Linked DNA regions of Homo sapiens: all the other regions are linked to region 1. The links are contacts of gene promoters, found by promoter capture Hi-C in blood cells and fetal thymus (Javierre and others, 2016). All regions are on one chromosome and are shown on one strand. The core of a region is centred on a gene start or on the middle of the fragment in contact, and the rest is flanking DNA. Distances in the headings are between cores, read along the strand shown. Region 1 holds the start of PCNX2 (pecanex 2). Region 2 overlaps SLC35F3 (solute carrier family 35 member F3). Region 3 overlaps SLC35F3 (solute carrier family 35 member F3). Region 4 overlaps SLC35F3 (solute carrier family 35 member F3). Region 5 overlaps SLC35F3 (solute carrier family 35 member F3). Region 6 overlaps SIPA1L2 (signal induced proliferation associated 1 like 2). Region 7 has its middle 88 kb from the start of SLC35F3.

Region 1 (2,700 bases), core at 147-2,646:
CCCCAAGGTCACAGAACTGGTAACCAGTAGACCCAAAATTTAACCTAGGCATCATGACTTCACACCCAGAGTTCTGACCCTTTGGATACACTGCCGGAAAAAGAGTAAAGAGAAACCCAATCACAAATGTCAAACTCGGAATCCATCAGTCATGCAAACTCATTGACGATTTTTGCTGTAAAAAAAATGATCAAATAATGTGTTAGGAATAAAGTCCTCCAACCGACATACCAAAATTAGATTCTTGGCACGTAAAGTTTAATAAGACATGGAACACCTTACCTGTACAGCTTTTCAAAGCAGGTAAACCATTGTTTTAATTACGTATAATTTACCTAAGAAGGCCATCTATGTAGTTCTTCAGCAAGCACTCACTTACCATAACCCCACTAAAATGTCAAGCCCCATCTAAATGTTGTAATACTTTGTTTAGCATAAAGTACATTAGATTTATCCATTATTATATCTTCCTACAGATTTCTATACATAGTGGTGTAGAAATTACAATGTGAGTAACTGATAACTGAACTGCCTTCTCAAAGCAAAACAAGAAAGAAGGTGAGGGGGGAAAAAGGGGACAATAACTGAAATGAGTCTGCTTTTTACATTTCGTTTTTCCTCTTGGCTACAATCTACAGCATTTCACACCAAACATTATCCCAAGCTACCCAGCTCTAAGGCCTAGAGTTACCCACCTACAAAACAGGCTGCACGCTCCCTGCCACAAGCAGAGTGACTCATCCTAACATCCGGCATCAATTCTTAATGAGTCCCCGAGCCCCCGCAGTCCTGTCTACTTCTTTTCTTTTCCAGTGAATCCTCACAGTCCCCTTTCCCTGCATGTTCTCTGTCCCAAATTTCTGAAGCCCCTCCCTTTCCGTCTCTTAAGAATCTCTACGAACCCGAAAGCCCGTGAGGCTGATGGCACGTCTGTGGTTCCTTTCTCCTTCTTCCCTCCATACCCACAGCTCCCCGGGACCGGACCCTCCCCACTCACCAGGTGCAGGGCCAGGGGCAGCAGCAGGAGGAACAGCCACAGGTAGAGGTGGCAGCTGTTGGTGAACTTGCTCTGCTCCGGGTCGTGGTACCAGCCCCCGGTGAGCGCGGCCCACACGCCCTGCCGGAGCAGCTGCAGCACCTGGGACACCATGCCGGCTGCGCCCCGGGGCTGGTGAGCGCCCCGCTGCACCCTGCGCGCCCCGGCCGGATCTCCAGGCTCCCTCAGGTCTAACACCCGGGCCCGCGGGCCGCGCCCCCGCCGTCGCCGCCGCCGTCGCCCCCGCCGCCTCCTTCCACCCCACGTTTGAAGCTGGAGCTGCTCTTCCGCCCGGACCCGCGAACCGCGGCGCCGGAGCCGGCTGCTGCGGCCGGGCAGGTGAGCGCCATGTCCGAGGGAGGAAGGATTTTCCCATCGTGCTCAGAGGCGGCTGCTCAGAGGTTGCTTCCGAGGCTCCTCCCAACGCCCGCCCAGTCCCTCCTTAGCCTTCGCTGGGGGCCAGAAGGATTTCTGTGAGTGCCTCCAGCCTTTTCTTTCTCTCTTTCTCTTTTTCTCTCTTTCTTTCTCTCTCTCTTTTTCCTTCCTCCTCCCTCCCTCTCTCTCTCTTTCTTCCTTCCTTCCTTCCTTTCTCTCTCTCTCTCTCTTTCTTTCTCGCTCTTTTTTTCTTTCTTTCTTTCTTTTTTTTTTTTGCCTCTCCCCTCTTCCCTTCCCCTTCTCTCTGATCCTCCTGTTAGGGGACGTGCAAGGGTGTTCTCATGCAGAAGGCACAGACCCAGGACACGTTCCTTGTCCTTGTCCTTTTTTGCACCCAAGTATTTACCTCATACAAGGTCCTGTCACACAGCACTCAAAGTAATTTCTTCTCCTGAGCACTTCCTGCACGACTTCATTCTCCTTAATTAAGGGCTGACCCCAGACGTTCTATTAATCTAAGCTCTACCTGGTCCTCTGCCACTGATCTTCTGTCCTCCCTGACTGTTTCTCCTCCACTCCCTGTTGTCCAACTTGGTGGAGAAAGAAGATAACCACCTTCCTGATAAAATTTTAGGAGCTTCAGTTAGCCTTAGTTTTTTATCTCTTTCCTAGAACATAATCCCAGGTATTTAACTGGCTATATAGAACATTAGTCTAAATCTCTCTATGCTGTTTAGACAGGAAGACCCACTGGACAAAAAATTAATAATCTTTAAGCTATTATATATTTTATCATTTACAGTGGATACAGTTTAGATTCTCTTTTGAGAGTGGGTTTTGGAAAGGGAAGAGATAAAAAGGAGCTTGTCTTCCTTTGGGATGAGGAGCAGAAGCCCTGTGTGAGCTAGAGCCTTAGGGAGAGACAAAGATTAGAGGGCTCCATGATTCCCAACACGCCTTCCCTGCATCATCCTTACCTGGTCTGTCCCAACACATCACACTCCTCTGACTTGTGTGCCTGCCTGTGTCCTGGCCATGTTCTGGTCTGCAGCAGCACTTACTTATGGCTGCCCTAGTCAGGCCCAGTAAAGGCACACCAGCCTTCCCAGGCTGAAACGAAGATAAGGACAGGCCCATCATGAGGAGAGGGCCCAGGACATGAAAGGCCACTGAGTTACAGCAAAAGCCTCACTATGGTGTGTCTGCCATCAGCTATAACCACTCTTCCTTCTACTTTACATTCATCAGTAGGAATGAATCATCAAAATGGAATATGGCTGCTTTCTGTA
Region 2 (2,700 bases), core at 199-2,698, 790 kb after region 1:
ATACTGAAGGTATGTCTAAGCTGGGTCCAAGGTAATTGTTAGCTTCTCTCCATGAATCTTTGGCAGAGGAATGCTTCAGTGTCCATGAGATATATTTGTGTGGAACAGAGGAAGGCAGCTATGGATATTTCCCCACCTATTGATGATAATTAAAAATCACCCATGCCTGGATCTTTATGATCAACTTGGGCCTTCAAAAATTGGTTTTTGTTTCCTAAGTCCTATTGGGATTTCTGCCCAGCCAGATTTGGAGATAAGTATTCCCCAATCATTGTGCTATGATCCTTATTTCCCTCTGTCTGAATGGATTGGGATGTTATTATTTTGGCTTGCATTTGCACGAATATGGCAATCAATCTTGAGATGTAATTTGTATTGGGCTACCTTGTACCCAGACCTCAGTGTGCCCACCCTTTAGATGTTTGCTTTTATTTGGGGGATATAAAGGTCATAAACCTTGAGCCCTATCAATGACATCACCTACAGTCTCAGATCTTTTCTTCCCCTCCCCATACTTTATAAAACTCAGTGCTTATATTACTAGTAAATTCCATGTCCATGTTAGTGTGATGTCTTGGTCCTGTAAAGAGTTTGTCTGTGTGTGATATGGAACTCAATAAGCCCATTGTGATTCGGACTGCTCTTTGGGAAGTTTCAGTTGCTCTCTAATTCTAAGCAGGGACAATTTCTGGTCCTCAGTTGAGAAATCACCTGGCAATAGTTGATATTAGGCATAACTATTAGGTTGAACTATATACCCTGTCTTGTATGTCAAAAATAGTCAAATATCAGTAATATTGTGTGTTTTCACTAAAGGGAGTGTGATTTCCTTGAGATCAGGATATATCTTGCTCATTTTTGTTCATACCCTTCCATCATACCATCCTAACACAGTGCCTGATAAAATTATTGAAGAAATGAGTGAATGAATGTATGCATTAGTTCCCCATTTGAAGTGCTCATGTCTAACTCAGGACCTGGATGTACCCCTGTATGCTGCATTCATTTCCTTACTATCAGAGGACCATCCTGTATTACACAAGAACTGTGTTTGAAAACAACAAGCTGTCTTGCTTAGTTCAAGCTTAAGGTGCATTCTGAGGAACGGGAGAAATGAGTCAGGGGCTGAATGTTGGGTGAGACTATGAAGGGCTATGAGTGACATTCCTGGGACTTTGGATCTTACTCCATAGCCAACTGGGAGTTATTATTGGGTTTTGAAGCAGAAATCCAACTGTTTTTGCTTTAGTGGAACATGTCTGTATTTTAAAAGAAAACTATATTTATTCATCCTTTGATGGACAGAATGCTAATATCGAAAAGACAGATGTATTTACCTTGAGGAAAGGGATAATTTATGTGCATTCAATCCTACAAAATCCTTCACATAGCACAGTATAAGCCTGATTACACATGATTAATAATTGCACACGGGCTGATTGCTGGGCATTCTTGGCTGGGATGTTGTTGTAGATAATTAAAGATTTATTTGGCTGAAAATACCTACCCTAGCTAGAGAGTGGTTGGCTGTTGTTGCTAGAAAATCTCCTCACATGCATGACAGTTCAGGAGGATGATGATGTTTTAGAAGCATCCACTTGGAGATGCCAGGAAATGGAAAGCCTGTGTGAAGGACATGTAGAGATTTACAGATGCCCCTAGCTGTGTCCACAGAGCAGCAAATTCTGACTTATCGTCCCTGCCTTGACAACATGTGAATAAATTTCTGACAGGCGTTAGCAATTGAATTTCCCCAGGTATAATAAATTGCCTCTCTCTCTGATCATTTCATATTGTATGCTGAGTCTTTTCAAAGCTTTGAGCCTGAGCTATAAACCTGACATGACCTGTTTGAACTTCTAGGAAGGGCAGGTGCTTGGCAAAGATGTGGATAAGAGGAAGTGTCTCTCCTTTTCTGCCTGCCTTTCTGGCCACCAGCAATACCCCCACCACCACTGCTTCCAAGCCTTTGGTGTGTGCCATGCTCATCTAGGGATGGGGAAAGGGATTCCTCTTCTAACAGTGAGTCATATAAAATAAACCATTCTTGCCCACCTTTAGAACCTTCATAAGTCTTTCATGCCACATGTCAGCCCAGCCATCTGTGACAATGATTAAATAGTTGCTGTCACTGGTGGTGTATCTGTTAGGTGTGGTTAAATGTTCAATACCAAGATTCAGAATGTTGGAGCCGGTATTATCCGAAGGTCCACAATCCGAGGTTGCTCCTTCATACTTACAGAGGGGCACAGAACTGCCCAGAGTTAAGTGTTCTGCCTAACGACACCCAATAAGCCAAGAGTTAAATGTCCTGTTCAACATCACCCAACCAAGCTAGTGAACAAGCCAGGCCTGGGACCAAGGAAACTGGACTTTAGCCTAGGATCCTCCCACTGCACTGTGCTTTCTTCATTCCATTCATCAGACAACAGCTTTGGTGAGCCTTTCAAAGCATAAAACAAATTGTATCACTCTTCTGTTAAAAAAAACCCTCCAATGGCTTCTCAACCCACCCAGAAACAAATTCAAGGTCCTTAAATGTGAAGTCCCGGGTGGTCTAACCTCATCCACATCTCCCAGCTCATTTCCCTCTGCCCTCTCTGTTACAGCCATGGGGCTTCCTTGGTGATAGTGGTCACACACACCAGGGTTATCCCTGCCTCAAAACTTTAGCACAACATTCTTCTGCCTGCACTGCAC
Region 3 (2,718 bases), core at 157-2,656, 820 kb after region 1:
AGTGACGATCCAGTCCCAAGCTGCTGGGTACCACATTCCAGGCCAACAGGAAGAGCTTCCCCAGGACAGCGGCCTCAGAGCTCAGGCCTGGAGAAAGCTGAGAATTATGCTAAGGAAAGAAAAGAAGACTTTTTTAAAAATAGGAGAAACAATGAGATGGGGCTTTCAGAACACAGCAAGATGTTTAGGGTGAGGTTGGCCTTGTCCTTCTGTATCCTGTGTAGTCCCCATCAGGATCCTGGGGGAGACAAGCGCCTGAGAATAGCTCATCCTCCGAGTGGAGCAGCCTGAGATAAATGCAGGCCATGCTTTCGGCAGAACCTCAGATCTTTCTCATCCTTGCCATGGCTGTGCTGGTTAATTCAGTGCTTAGACCAGGTGCAGTGGCTCATGCCTGTAAACCCAGCACTTTGGGAGGCAGTGGCAGGAGGATCACTTGAGCCCAGGAGTTCAAGACTAGCCTGGGCAGTGAGACTTCGTCTTTACAAAAAAATAAAAATAAAAAAGAAAATAAAGGAGCCAGGCATGGTGGTGCATGCCTGTGACCCCAGCTGCTCAGGAGGCTGAGGTAGGAGGATTCCTTGAGCCTGGGAGTAGTTCGAGGCTGCAGTGAGCCAGGATCACACCACTGCACTCCAGCATGGGTGATGGAATGAGAACCTGTCACAAACAAAACAAAAAAATCTGTGCTTAGACACATACTTTCCCTATAACAATGCACAGAACACCTTGCTGTCCTTTTCTCTCATGTGACTCATATCAGAGTTTATCTTCTACCCCGTATTTCCAAAAGTAATCCCAAATAGTTATTGTCTTGTATTGTGTTTGGAAATTTTACCCAATCTTTTGTGAAGTTTATAATTCACACTCTTTTTTTTTTTTTTTTTGAGACAGAGTCTCACTCTGTCACCCAGGCTGGAGTGCAGTGCCGCTATCTCGGCTCGCTGCAAGCTCCGCCTCCTGGGTTCACCCCATTCTCCTTCCTCAGCCTCCAGAGTAGCTGGGACTACAGGCGTCCGCCACCATGCCCAGCTAATTTTTTTTTTTTTTTTTTTTTTTTTTTGCATTTTTAGTAGAGACAGGGTTTCACCTGTTAGCCAGGAAGGTCTCGATCTCCTGACCTCATGATCCACCCTCCTCGGCCTCCCAAAGTGCTGGGATTACAGGCGTGAGCCACCGTGCCCGGCCTATAATTCACATTCTTAATGACCGGTTTCAGAAATAACTTTTACTTGAGGCTGGGCATGGTGGCATATGCCTGTAGTCCCAGCTACTCAGGAGGCTGAGGTGAAAAGATCGCTCAAGCCCAGTAGTTTGAGACCAATGAGCCCAGGAGTTCGAGACCAGCCTGGGCAAAAGAGCAAAACCTCATCCCCATTTTAAAAAAAGAAGAAGAAAAAGAAAAGAAAGAAAAGAAATAACTATTAATATATGTGCTGTGCTTAAAGTTTCTGACATAATCAAAGCACTCTTATGAGCCCCTGATAATTTCCACATTTGTCCTCTCCGTCCAACCACAGACTAAATTGCCATAATCATCAAAGTAAGCCCTTGGCCTTAGACCTGGGACATAAAAGAATCAGGATGGAGCCAGGAGAAACCTGGCAGTTGTCTGGAGATCCCTTAAGCATTTGTTTTTTGTTTGCATTCCAGGAAAACTGTTTCATAAAGTAAGCTCTGAACATACTCACTACAGGCTAATACTTATTTTCTCTTGATTTATGAGAAATTTAAAGAAGCTAGAGGAGGAAGAAGCTGCTAAATGTAAATGTAATGTTGGAAGGTATAATTGGGATTTAAGATATTAAATTGTTTAATTATAGGCTGCCCTAAAATGAAGTCTTTCTTGTGTTCATAGACTTTAGTTCATGACCATTAAGATTTCGGTGACATGTAGGCAAGCATGGTGGCTCACGCCTGTAATCCCAGCACTTTGGGAGGATGAGATGGGCAGATCACCTGAGATCAGGAGTTCAAGACCAGCCTGACCAACATGATGAAACCCGTCTCCACTAAAAATACAAAAATTAGCCAGGCATGATGGCATGCGTCTGTAATCCCAGCTACTCGGGAGGCTGAGGCAGGAGAATTGCTTGAACCCGGGAGGTGGAGGTTGCAGCAAGCCGAGATCGTGCCATTGCACTCCAGCCTGGGCAGCAAGAGCAGAACGCCATCTCCAAAATAAAAAAATAAGAAAAGGTTTTGGTGACACGTAAGAGATTTCTCAGCAAAGTGCAAAGACTCGGATACAAGTGTTCTCTTGCCTCCCTTATGCAATGTGTGCTGGTAAGAGTTTAACAATCGGCTCTCCAGGAGGAGACTGGGGCAAGAGGGACCCTGATTTGCAGCATTTGCCAGTTCCGCAGGGTAAGTGCTCCCACTATGGCTGGTTTCAAACTACCAGTGTGACATCACAGACTGTGTTTGGAAGGAGATACACACGATAGTCTTATGAGCCAGTATGAGTTGGCTCCAGCACACCACTGCATGCCATTAATAGATTTCTGCTGTTCTTTGGAAATTTATATCATGGTATTTATTGCTGATGAGAAGATAATGAGTTTTTGCTTAAGTTTGGGAAAGGAAAACAAATTTGAAAAATGTGCACTGAAATTGTTATGAAAAGCTCCTAATTCTTGAGTTTTTGTTGTTATTGCTGTTTTTAAAAGATTGCTTGTTTGGTCCTTCAAATGTGAGTAAAGGAAAGAAGATAAAACT
Region 4 (2,700 bases), core at 147-2,646, 770 kb after region 1:
GGTTTCCTCATGGTTTTTAAGCAATCCATGGAGGTAGGAATGGGAGGACGCCAGGAAGGCCATGTGCTTCTTACCTATGGAAATAGGGTTGCCTTCCATTATGCTCCTGGTCTCTTCCTCTTCACTTCCCACTACCTTCTCCTTCCCAAAGATAAAAAGGGTTGCCCCTGCCCTACTTCTCAAATAGAAGTTGGACGAGGGCAAAGAATAGAAGCCAACCTCTCTCTCTGTCTCTCTCTCTCTTTCCCTCCCTCCCTTTCTCTCTCTTTCTCTCCCTCTCTCTCTCTTTCCTTCCCTCTCTCTCTCTCTTTCTCTCCCTTTGTCTCTCTCTGTCTCTGTCCCTCTCTCTCCCACACACACACACACACACACACACACACACACACACACACACACAATTATATTAAAATCTCTGTTATTGCAAGCTGTTTTTGTACCCACTTTCTGCAGTTCATTAGGGAATACATAATTCCATGACTTCATTTGCGTATGAATAAAGCTAGTCACTTAAAGGATCAAACATTTTTACAAATAACTCTTATAATAAATAACTTTCTTAAATGTGTACTGTTCTACTCTGCTTTCTTAGTTCTGATTTGTCAAAGTTTATCACCACAATCATCATTTGTTATATCCCATTTTAATAAGGACATAAGTATATTGCAGAGGCAATTGTGATTTTTTTTTCTACCTACACACTGCAAATGACAACTGATTTGAGGCTTTTTGAGATCTCAACTTAGGGGTTTATATTTGCCTCAATTATTTTCCTATTTCTGAAGATTTCAACGGCTATTGTCGCTACCTTTAGCATACTCGCCTCTAGTAACCAATGTCTATTGACAATTCTAACTTACTATATTAGGATAATATCCCATGGGCTAAAAAGCCAAATAAAAATTTTATTAGAAAATATCAAACACCGGTCCGTGGTCTCTGAGCAAGGGTGTGGTGGATCATTTGCAGCATGACCTCCGCATATCCTCTCCTTATGTCCGCATCCGTGAGTGGTCTTCTTGACTCTGACTCTGGGCTTGATCAGCTGACTTGCTTAGCCTAAGAAGCAACTTTTGAGCCCTGAAATCTGGGGGCCTTACAGCTTCTTTTCTCAGAACCCTGAGACTACCTGGCGAAGAAGCTTGGGTTGTCCTCCTGGAGGATAAGAAATCACGTGGCAAAGAGAGTCCCAGCCAATAGCCAGCACCACCACACATGTGAGTGAGGACATTTGATACCACCTAGCCCGAGCTGAGCCTCCAGATGACTGCAGCTGCATGCATGACCCCTGGCAAAACCAGCAGAACTGCTTGACTGAGTCCAGTCCTGATTGTTCATTCACAGAGTGAGGAGCAAATGAAGGGGTCATGGGTCATGGTGGTGGTGATTTGTTACACAGGAAAGGGTAATTCATGCACAAGGCCTCTGCCATTTACCTTCAAATAAAGTAGCTGGGTTTGGTGAAGACCTCTGAAATATCTGTTTGGCCTCCAGAGGTGGGCTTTACTTATTCCAAAATTCTGGGCTTGGTTTCAGGTAACCGAGAGCCTTCCAACTAAATGCCATTTACTCACATTATGAAAACCTCATGGCTCTCCTAGAGATGTTTAAGCAATTTAAGGATAATGAACCACTTATGAGATTGGAAGGGAGACAGATAAGCTTAAAAGTGTTAGGAGCCTCTGCCAACCGAAACTCCATCAGAAATGAAAATGAAGTGTCTCTAAATGTGTTAAGAAAGTGACTGTAAACGTGGGATTCAATGCGAAAAATTCCACGCACCTCAAACTTTCAGAAATAGTGAATGCACTCTGTCCCTGCCTTTTGGTTTATGGCTTCCTCTTGAAACTCCTGTATTAAGAAAACTTCAACAACTGCTGTCAGCCAGATGCAGTCAAGGGTGCTGTGAAAGGTGCAAAGGTAAGTTAGCCCTGACTCTCATCTGATTCACAGTCTGTAACAGAAGACTCACATGCTAACAGCTACAAGAAGCAGCTCAGCCTCCCAAGTAGCTGGGACTACAGGCGCGTGCCACCATGCCTTAGCTATGAGAGAAGCCATCATAGAACCCATAATTGCTGTCCCTGAAACAGAAGTAGGCACAAATAGGAACTATAATAGAAGTAGGAACAAAGTACAGTAGGAGCAGGAATAGCCAGTAATCTGGGAGTCAGAGAGGTGTGTGTGTGAGCAAGCATGTGTGTGTGCATGTGTGCATGCAGTAAGAGGCAAGAGTGCAGACCACGTAGGCCTTGCAGACCGCTGTAAATGCTTGGCTTTTGTTCCTTGTGAGACAGGAATAAAGAAATGTCCAAGCAGAGGAGTGACAGGATAAGATTTGAGACATTATATATATATATATATATATATATATATATATGGCATATTTATATATATTTTACATATTTTTTATATTTATATATTATATATATTTTTATATGTAATATATTATATATAAAATTATATAATTTTACTACATATAATATATAAAATTATATAATTTTACTACATATAATATATAAAATTATATAATTTTACTATATATAATATATAAAATTATATAATTTTATATATAATATATATTATAATATATATTATATGCAATATATATTATATATTATATTATAATATATTGTATATTTTTGTATATAAAATATATAATATATAATATATTTATAGACAATAATATATAATATAATATAT
Region 5 (2,700 bases), core at 79-2,578, 750 kb after region 1:
CTCGCTTTGGGTCACAGGTTTCAGGCTTTTTGACTTGAAGGCCGGGCTTCACCAGGGACCCGCCCCTGTCTGCCTAGAGTTTCTCTGCCCCCTGCTTCTATCATTCAGAATGTACGATTTAGCAGAAGAAAGTGTGGTAGACCCACACAAGCATCCACACTGACAGAGGAGGCACCTGGCTTTGAGACTTTCCTTTGTGGGTTGGCTGCATCAACTGCTTCCTGTCATGGATGAAACCACAGAGCCTCATGATTATGGTCCTGGCTCTCACCTGGATGACAAGGCTGCATAGGCACTCTGGCCTTTGATGCCTCTTGAGGATGGAGTAGGAGAGAATTACAAAGTGGTTAACAACTAAGAAGACCTAAGGAGGGTCCGGCATCCTAGGGAAAGTTTGGGGACCGACTTTATTCTGGGATATGTCTGAAAAAAGATTCAAAAGAAAACATGTCTGGGCCTGCCACATAGAAGGCACCCAAGTTATTAATTCAACCAGACTCTGCAGCTGCGAACAGATGAGTAATGCTATGGATCATTTGCAGGGTCCTGCAGGAGAGTTGGCTGAACGTAAGACGTGTTATGATATGAATAACCTTTCATGGGTAGAAACACATGTGCTATCTCTGCAGAGGTATATTCGTTTTTAACTTTCTTCTTAGCAGCACAGTAATGTAAAATCTCCTTCTTTGGTAATGATGTCATCAACATCATTACTCTAGGGCTAATCTGCTTCTACAGTTAATTGTGAAACACAGGACAATTAACACTACTACTGTAATAAATACCCTCAAATTCTCAATGGCTTAACACATTAAGTGTTTGTTTCTCACTCCTGTCACTGTGTGACAGTGGTCTGCTGGATCTTTCTCCTCCAAGTGGTGACTCAGGGATCCATGATCATCCTTCTTGTACTACGTCCACCTTCTGTACATAGTCGCTGTGATCTCCAGGAAGGGGGAAAAGGACTACGGAGGGATTTCTTTCCAGACCTGAAATTGATATACATCATTTCCACCTACATCCATTGACCAGAATCCAGTCACATGCACCCAATCTAACTGCAAAGGAAGTTGTGTCCAGGAAGAAAAAAATGAAGTTTGAGAGCATACATGCAGCTATCCATCTAGTGTGTCTGCCTGTATGTATCTATATGCATTCACACTCACACACACCTGTGGCAGACTTAAAAGAAAATAGCATAACCACAGCATGTTTTATAATTGTTCTTGCAAATACTCTTCTAATCACTTGCACATTTTATAACAAAGATTCTGTTTGCAAAGCAGGACTGCATCACAACTTACTTGAAGGTGAATGAGATTATATTCTATTACACCTGTGATTTTTACGGAGGCACAGTTTCCATTATACATGCATAGTACCCAGCATGGTGCAAAAGCATGTAGGTATTCAATAATCATATTGACCAGATCCTTAGATGGGTGGATGATGGGTGGGCAGTTCAAATCAGAAATCATTTTTGTTGTGGTTCTGTGACACACAGGAAGGAGTCCTGGGTGATGCCTTCTGAGCTCATGGCACCATCTTTATGCACGTGCATGTCCCCCTTATGGCATCAGTGGGGCCCATGCATGTAGAAGTAGGCCAGCTGCCCAGTAAATCTCCCTCCTACTGCTAGACAGTAAAGGCAGGTCACTCTTCCCTGACGTCAAGTTGCCCCTCTGGCTTTCTCCTCCGAAGTCAACTTGCCTTGGGGTTCTCTCTCCAGCAAACAGCTGCCACTGACAGAGTCAGAGGAAATGGTACATAATAAGCAGTATAATAAATAGTCCATTGGACCTTCCATGTGGATCATTATCAAGTCATTTGTATCAGAATTAATATTTCATATAGCATAGTTATATGAGAACACTGAAAGAAACAGGGGCATGATTAATACATTCTGATGATATGGTACCAATTTTATATTATTCAGTAAAGTTAATTCTGTCTCTAAAGAAAGGCTCCTACCATTTCAAGTTTAAAAAAGACTATCTATGATCATGGTCTTTAGGATATAAAAGGTTGGCAACTACTGATGTAAAAAGAACCAAAGAATAAAAAGAATCCAAATGACAGCCATAATCAATATCTTCCCCAAGCGGAAACAAATTCTTTTTTCTTTTGTTTTTTTCAACATCAGTTAAAGAGCATGCATCTGTCTTTTTTGATACATTGCTAATTTAAAAAGTAATTTTAGGCTGTGTAAGCAATACAACCACAGAGGATATGGGAATGAAAGAAAGTTCCATAATCACAACATCCTGACACAATTATTTTATCACTTCATTTCCTTCGAGAGTTTATTTCCATCTGTATGTTCTGCATAGTTGCAAGCATGGTGCGTGTAACCTTTTCCTTTTTTTCATTCCTTGTGTTGAAGATCCCGTTTTTATGAAGTGTAGTAGGTGCACCTAGTAACAACTGAAATGGTGTCGAAGAGCCTGCTTTGACGAGCAGCCGTCTTCCGCCTTCGCTCACCCACCTCTAGTCTCACACCCCATTGAAAACTTCTTAACTGTTTTGGTTATCAGTAGTTCTGCTAATTACTTCCGTAAGTCTAAGTAATATGCTTATAACTTTATGTCTTTTTATTATGAACTAAATACATTAAAAGGTACAAATGTATGATGTAACCACCATCTAGTTGTATTAAATGCAAATATTTTGTTGTACGTTGCTTCCGTTTCTTAAGAAAAA
Region 6 (2,729 bases), core at 41-2,540, 670 kb before region 1:
TGAAACCTGGGAAAGGTGTGAATCATACTCTCTCATGAAAGGCGGCCACCTAAGGGTGCCCAGGCTCCCAGGAACCACACCCCTCTGAATGGGGCTATAAAGTTCTTGATGTAACAGATGGAACACAGTCCCTCTTCAGAAACTTCCACATTTTTACCAGTTCCATATCAGAGTTCAATCACAGGTCATTTCAAACGACCCAGGAAAGGCATAAATGAGGTATAAACTGTTGTTCAAGATAGATCATGTACAATAGAAATAATGATTAGAACTTGCTCAACAGTATTTAGTTCAACAAAAGCCAAGATAAAGGAAGTTCTTTTACGTTCAACCCACAACTCCCAATCATTTCTTTAACAAATATTTGTTTACTGTGAGCCTATTATGTGGCAAAAACCACCTAAGTGCAGGGAATACAGCAGTAAACCAGAAATGTCCCTGCCTGTTTGCTGCTTATGTTCCATTATTAAAATCGAACAGGAGGATGGGTGGGGGTGGATGGTGCTCGTTTAGCTGGAAGTTACTGGAGATACAAGAGCAGGGCTCCCTGCTGTCTCTCCTCACTCATTCCCAACCCACTAACGGCTGGGAAGCCAGGCATTCCTTGCACTACGGGTGGCTGTGTGCTACAGTTCTGGCCAATCACATACAGACAGAGCTAGGCTGTCAATCTGAACTTTTAACATACCCTGATCCTGGGAATGCTTTCGTCTGAGTGTGATAGTATGATGCTTCTTAAACAGCTGAGTTCAGAACAGGCACAGTGGCTCACGCCTGTAATCCCAGCACTCTGGGAGGCCGAGGCGGGCAGATCACGAGGTCAGGAGATCGAGACCATCCTGGCTAACATGGTGAAACTCCGTCTCTACTAAAAATACAAAAAAAAATTAGCTAGGCATGGTGGCAGGCACCTGTAGTCCCAGCTTCTTGGGAGGCTGAGGCAGGAGAATGGCAGCAACCCAGGAGGCAGAGCTTGCAGTGAGCCAAGATCGCACCACTGCACTCCAGCCTGGGTGACAGTGCGAGACTCTGTCTCAAAAAACAAAACAAAACAAAACAAAAAAACAGCTGAGTTCAATTAGAAACTTTCTAAGGAGAATAGCATCGCCATTACATTAACCTCCTACCCCTCAATAAATGAAACCCCAAACCAAGACCCACAAGCAATTCTGGAAGAAAACAGGCCAAAGTCAGAAATGTCTTCGGGAAAAAGAATAAATACACAGTAAATATAAGGCCCATCAAGAGTGGAGTTTGTCTTCCGCTTGCCTCACAAGACCCTACAGGCTCCCTAGAAATTCCATTTCTCAACTGCTATAAACTCTAACCAGTGATAGTACAACAGTGGTCTCTACACAGGGGCCACACATTTCAAAGATACAAATGCCCTTGAGATGCAGAGAAAATACTTCTACATCTATTTATTTTTAATATTAATCTTCTTAAAATGTACATTTGTTTTATGTCCATAATATCTTAGCACAGTAAAGTATATGTTTATACATACAGATATATTATACATATACACACACACAAACGTGCATGCAGATATGTATACATGTATACGCATACATACATGAACACTTAGACAATTGTGTATAGATGGGATGCACGTTGAAAAAAGTTTGAGAACCTTGAGAACCTGCTAAAAAGAAACCACTGTTTCTTGCATTAGGCCATTTAAACACCTGAAACAGGTAGCATTTGCCCTGTACAAAGAATCAAAACTATAATTCCTAAAATTACTTATTAGAAACTTCAATACGGAGAGGACAGTATCCCAAAGCTATTCCTGAACAATGTGAATACCCACTGTTCAACAAGGAACCAAATGTGTTATCAAAACCACCTCCAGAAGACAGTGAAAGTAGTTATGCTGACTTCACAGGACACTATGTCTTAAGCATTAACCAGAACTTTCTTTTAAAACTCCACACAATAGTTCATCTCAGCAGACATAATCTTTTATTCACCCAGGAGTTCTTACTTTCCACAATAACAATTTTTAACACTGGCTCTTTACCTAGATATTTTTACTTAAGAGTTTGAATAAACTACCAGATAGCTTACTTCGGACTGTTCTGATTTCTTGAGGAACTCAACTAAATGGGGATATTTCTCAGAAGATTAAGCAAATATGTAGAAGTGAAAAATATGGAGTAATCTAATGGGCAGAGTTCAAGACACCCCTTTTGGCTAAATGTTTATTAGTAAAATAGGAAGAGAAGTATATCAACCAATTAAAACAAAACCGGAAGAGACTGTGGTGTTCTTCCCCACTATCTGAAAGCAATTCAACACAAGAGAATACCAAACCAAAAAATAAGCTGAAGAAAGTCCAACAATATTCTGATTTTTCCTAGAAGCACTGCAGTTCCTAAGGCCTCCGGAGGTCACAGATCACAGTGTGACCCTAGTGTCTCAATCCAGTCAGTCATTTAACACATTTTCTTAATCATATGCAGAAGAGAGTGCTCGTTACTAGGGACACACTGAAAATGAACTCATTATTACTCAGCATAACTTGGTCAGTAGAACCAGCAAAGGAGGTTTGACACACTCTTTCAGGATATCCATGTGGAAAGGTGGAGCTATATGGGCTAGTTATAAGATATGAAGAGCATTAGTAGTTAACTATAACCGAGAGTGTGACTCCTTGTAAGCCTCGAGGGAAGCTTCCAGAGACACACTTCGTGTTGTTCAGCCAGTTTAACAATTTCATCACCGGC
Region 7 (2,700 bases), core at 186-2,685, 520 kb after region 1:
GGAGAAAGGGAACTTTTTAAGAATTTTTTATTTATATTTATATATTTTTAAGAGACAGGGTCTTGCTCAGAAGTACAGTAGTGCAATCATACATAGCTCACTGTAACCTTGAACTCATGGCCTCAAGTGATCCTCCCTCAGCCTCCCAAAAGTGCTGGGATTAAAGGCACAAGCCACTGTGCCCAGCCCCAAAGGAAAATACACAGTTGGTGGGAATGTAAATTAGTGCAGCTACTGCAGAAAATAGTATTCAGTTTTTCTCGAAAAACTGAAAATAGAACTACCATACAATCTGTCAATTCCACTATGGATATTTATTATCCAAAGAAAAGGAAACCAGTATATCACAGGGATACCTGAACCTCCATGTTTATCGCAGCACTATTAGATATAGCATAGATATGGAATCAACTTAAGTGTCCATCCACAAATGAATGGCTTTTTTAAAAATGTGGCATGTATACACAATGGAATACTATTCAGCCATAAAAAAAGAATAAAATTCTGTCATTTGTAGCAGCATGGATGGAACCAAAGGTCATTATGTTGAGTGAAATAAGCCAGGCACAACAAGAAAAATATTGAATGTTCTCACTCACATGTAAGCTAAAAAATGTTGACGTCATGGAGATTGTAAAATGATAGATACCAGAGGCTGGGAAAGGTAATGTGGGGGCAGGGAAAAAAGAGAGGTTGATTAATGAATGCAAAACTATGGTTGGATAGGAGGAATAAGTCCTAGTGTTTGATAGCACAATAGGGTAATTATAGTTAACAAAAATATATTGTATATTTCAATAGCTAGAAGAGAAGATTTGGAATGTTCCAAATGCAAACAAATAATAAATGTTTAAGCCAATGGATGTCCTAAATACCTTGATTTGATCATTACACATTGTATGCATGTATCGAAATATCACATGTATATACAATTATGATGTATCAAAAATTAGTGAGTTTTAAAAAAAGACTTATAAAGCAAAAAAAGATTAGCCATGGCTTTTTGGGGTTCTTGTTTGACTTCCTGGACTGTTGCTAGACAAAGCAACCTGACTTTCCACAAGTCTGACACAGCCGGCTGGCTTCCTGGGCTGGCTACTGTGTTGGCTTCCTGGGCAGGTTGCTGCAGGCTGTAGGTCAGAGTTCTGTCTTTTAGGCATGGTCTGGCTGTTTTCTGTTTATCTATTCAGTCTCTCATTAGTGTTGCCAGAACCAGGAGGTAGAACCAGGAAAGGCTAAAATTCCTGAAGGCACAGAAGCTCGGACTGGATTATTCATCCATTTACATCATTTCATGTGTCAGCCATCAAAGCGAGGTTGATGCTTGAGTCTTGGGATCAAGCCCTCACTGACTTACCCCACCCCAGACAATTGGTGGTAGGTTAGGAAGGGCAGCTGTTCTCTCTGAGACCCACTCACACTGTGGCTCAAGTAGCTTCTGAGCCACAGCAGTGCTCAACAAGGTAGTGGGAAAACTCCTATCCCTTAGGCTGTAATTGCTCTGTAATTTATTCAGAAGGAGGGCACGGTGTATTCCCAATGACAGGCAGCAGTATTGAAAAGCTATCAGCAGACCATGAGCATGTTGAATGCATTTCCTAATCTCCTTTTCCATCTGCCTGGGTTGACCTGACAGTCTGACTCTCTGAAAATAAGAGAGCATACTGGGGAAGCTGTTTTTCTTCTTAATTTCTTAATTTGATCTGGCCTGCATCATCTCCTTTCTGTGTCAAACTCTGGGATTCCGAGGTTTTAAAAAATAACAGCAAAGATTTGCTTGGTGCTAGAGATTTAGTATCTGATCAGATGGCTAAAGAGCAACTGTGAAGCAATTAATGTAAATATTCATTTAATAAATGACCGAATAAAAAATGAATTGAATAAATGACTGAATTCAGAACTCATCTTAGATTTCACCGCACCTCTGGGAAGTTCGTCACACCTTGCTGGTCAGAGGGGTGGCCTGTTGTCCCCCTGGCTTCTGTACCTTAGTGTTGAAAGACAGCGCTGTTGAATGGCTATGGTGTTCCTACCACTCTCCTCCTTTACTCTGTAAGCTACTTTTTTGGAACAAGTATTCTTATTTTGTTTCTGCATCCCCAGCACTTGTCAGTGAAACTGCACAGAGCAGGAATGAGTCTAGTGTTCATGAAAGGAACATGGAAACAGTACAAGAAAAAACCTTGGCAATTTGGTAATACTGAGGAGAATTTTCCTAGTATCATCACCATTCCTTTCTTCACTGCCTTTAAGGATTAACAACTTTTTTTTTTGTAAAATTTCAGTCTGCAGCACATGAATCATTTATAAAAGGCTACCAAATGATAAAATACTATCTTATCTCTGTGAGGTAGTTGGATCTGAGCAGGAAAGTAGGCTCTGTTGATAGATTCAGGTAAACAGAATTAGTGCCAAATGAAATGTCTATATGAAGAAGTGGTTGCCGGGGTGTGAGGCATTTGGGTGGGCAAGTAAGAGAGAAGGTTTCCAGCTGGGCCATCATGGTGCCATCTGGAGAAAGAGGAACGCAGGAAGTTGGGGAGACCAGGATAAAATCAATCCTGGACATGGTGAGTTGGAGGTACTTATCAGACATCAAAGCGGAGTGCAGAAGAAAGATTGTGCTGGAGTTATTGATTTGGGAGTCAGTAGCACTGAAGAGATTACTGAAGACTCACAGTGAGTTCCTTTGTCCAGGTA

The links. The method cuts DNA at HindIII sites, captures the fragments that hold promoters and counts their contacts. A CHiCAGO score of 5 or more calls a contact.
Region 2: a contact is called between a fragment that was not itself captured here and the fragment with the promoter of PCNX2 in region 1, in 4 of 17 cell types (total B cells, M0 macrophages, naive B cells and 1 more). The highest score is 6.8, in total B cells.
Region 3: a fragment that was not itself captured here is called in contact with the fragment with the promoter of PCNX2 in region 1 in 1 of 17 cell types (M1 macrophages); the score reaches 5.8 in M1 macrophages.
Region 4: a contact is called between a fragment that was not itself captured here and the fragment with the promoter of PCNX2 in region 1, in 17 of 17 cell types (naive B cells, total B cells, naive CD4 T cells and 14 more). The highest score is 33.4, in naive B cells.
Region 5: a contact is called between a fragment that was not itself captured here and the fragment with the promoter of PCNX2 in region 1, in 4 of 17 cell types (naive CD4 T cells, total B cells, total CD4 T cells and 1 more). The highest score is 7.2, in naive CD4 T cells.
Region 6: a contact is called between a fragment that was not itself captured here and the fragment with the promoter of PCNX2 in region 1, in 2 of 17 cell types (monocytes and M1 macrophages). The highest score is 6.0, in monocytes.
Region 7: a contact is called between a fragment that was not itself captured here and the fragment with the promoter of PCNX2 in region 1, in 2 of 17 cell types (naive B cells and total B cells). The highest score is 6.6, in naive B cells.

What each region holds. Positions count from the first base shown.
Region 1 is chr1:233,294,329-233,297,028 of GRCh38, forward strand. It overlaps PCNX2 (pecanex 2), which reads right to left and starts at 1,397. Exons shown (of 34, transcript NM_014801.4): 1 at 998-1,397. The coding sequence starts at 1,150. RefSeq lists an enhancer at 783-832 and a silencer at 1,113-1,492. The HindIII fragment of the contact is 4,266 bases long and covers 1-2,700 here.
Region 2 is chr1:234,085,193-234,087,892 of GRCh38, forward strand. The region is part of intron 2 of SLC35F3 (solute carrier family 35 member F3); the gene reads left to right. Among named protein-coding and RNA genes, the nearest start is that of SLC35F3, 180 kb to the left of the region's middle. The HindIII fragment of the contact is 732 bases long and covers 1,083-1,814 here.
Region 3 is chr1:234,111,687-234,114,404 of GRCh38, forward strand. All of the region lies in intron 2 of SLC35F3 (solute carrier family 35 member F3), which reads left to right. Among named protein-coding and RNA genes, the nearest start is that of SLC35F3-AS1, 160 kb to the right of the region's middle. The HindIII fragment of the contact is 4,205 bases long and covers 1-2,718 here.
Region 4 is chr1:234,066,480-234,069,179 of GRCh38, forward strand. The region is part of intron 2 of SLC35F3 (solute carrier family 35 member F3); the gene reads left to right. Among named protein-coding and RNA genes, the nearest start is that of SLC35F3, 160 kb to the left of the region's middle. The HindIII fragment of the contact is 521 bases long and covers 1,137-1,657 here.
Region 5 is chr1:234,040,411-234,043,110 of GRCh38, forward strand. The region is part of intron 2 of SLC35F3 (solute carrier family 35 member F3); the gene reads left to right. Among named protein-coding and RNA genes, the nearest start is that of SLC35F3, 140 kb to the left of the region's middle. The HindIII fragment of the contact is 4,602 bases long and covers 1-2,700 here.
Region 6 is chr1:232,622,572-232,625,300 of GRCh38, forward strand. All of the region lies in intron 1 of SIPA1L2 (signal induced proliferation associated 1 like 2), which reads right to left. Among named protein-coding and RNA genes, the nearest start is that of SIPA1L2, 6.2 kb to the right of the region's middle. The HindIII fragment of the contact is 2,765 bases long and covers 1-2,673 here.
Region 7 is chr1:233,814,917-233,817,616 of GRCh38, forward strand. No RefSeq gene overlaps it. Among named protein-coding and RNA genes, the nearest start is that of SLC35F3, 88 kb to the right of the region's middle. The HindIII fragment of the contact is 6,208 bases long and covers 1-2,700 here.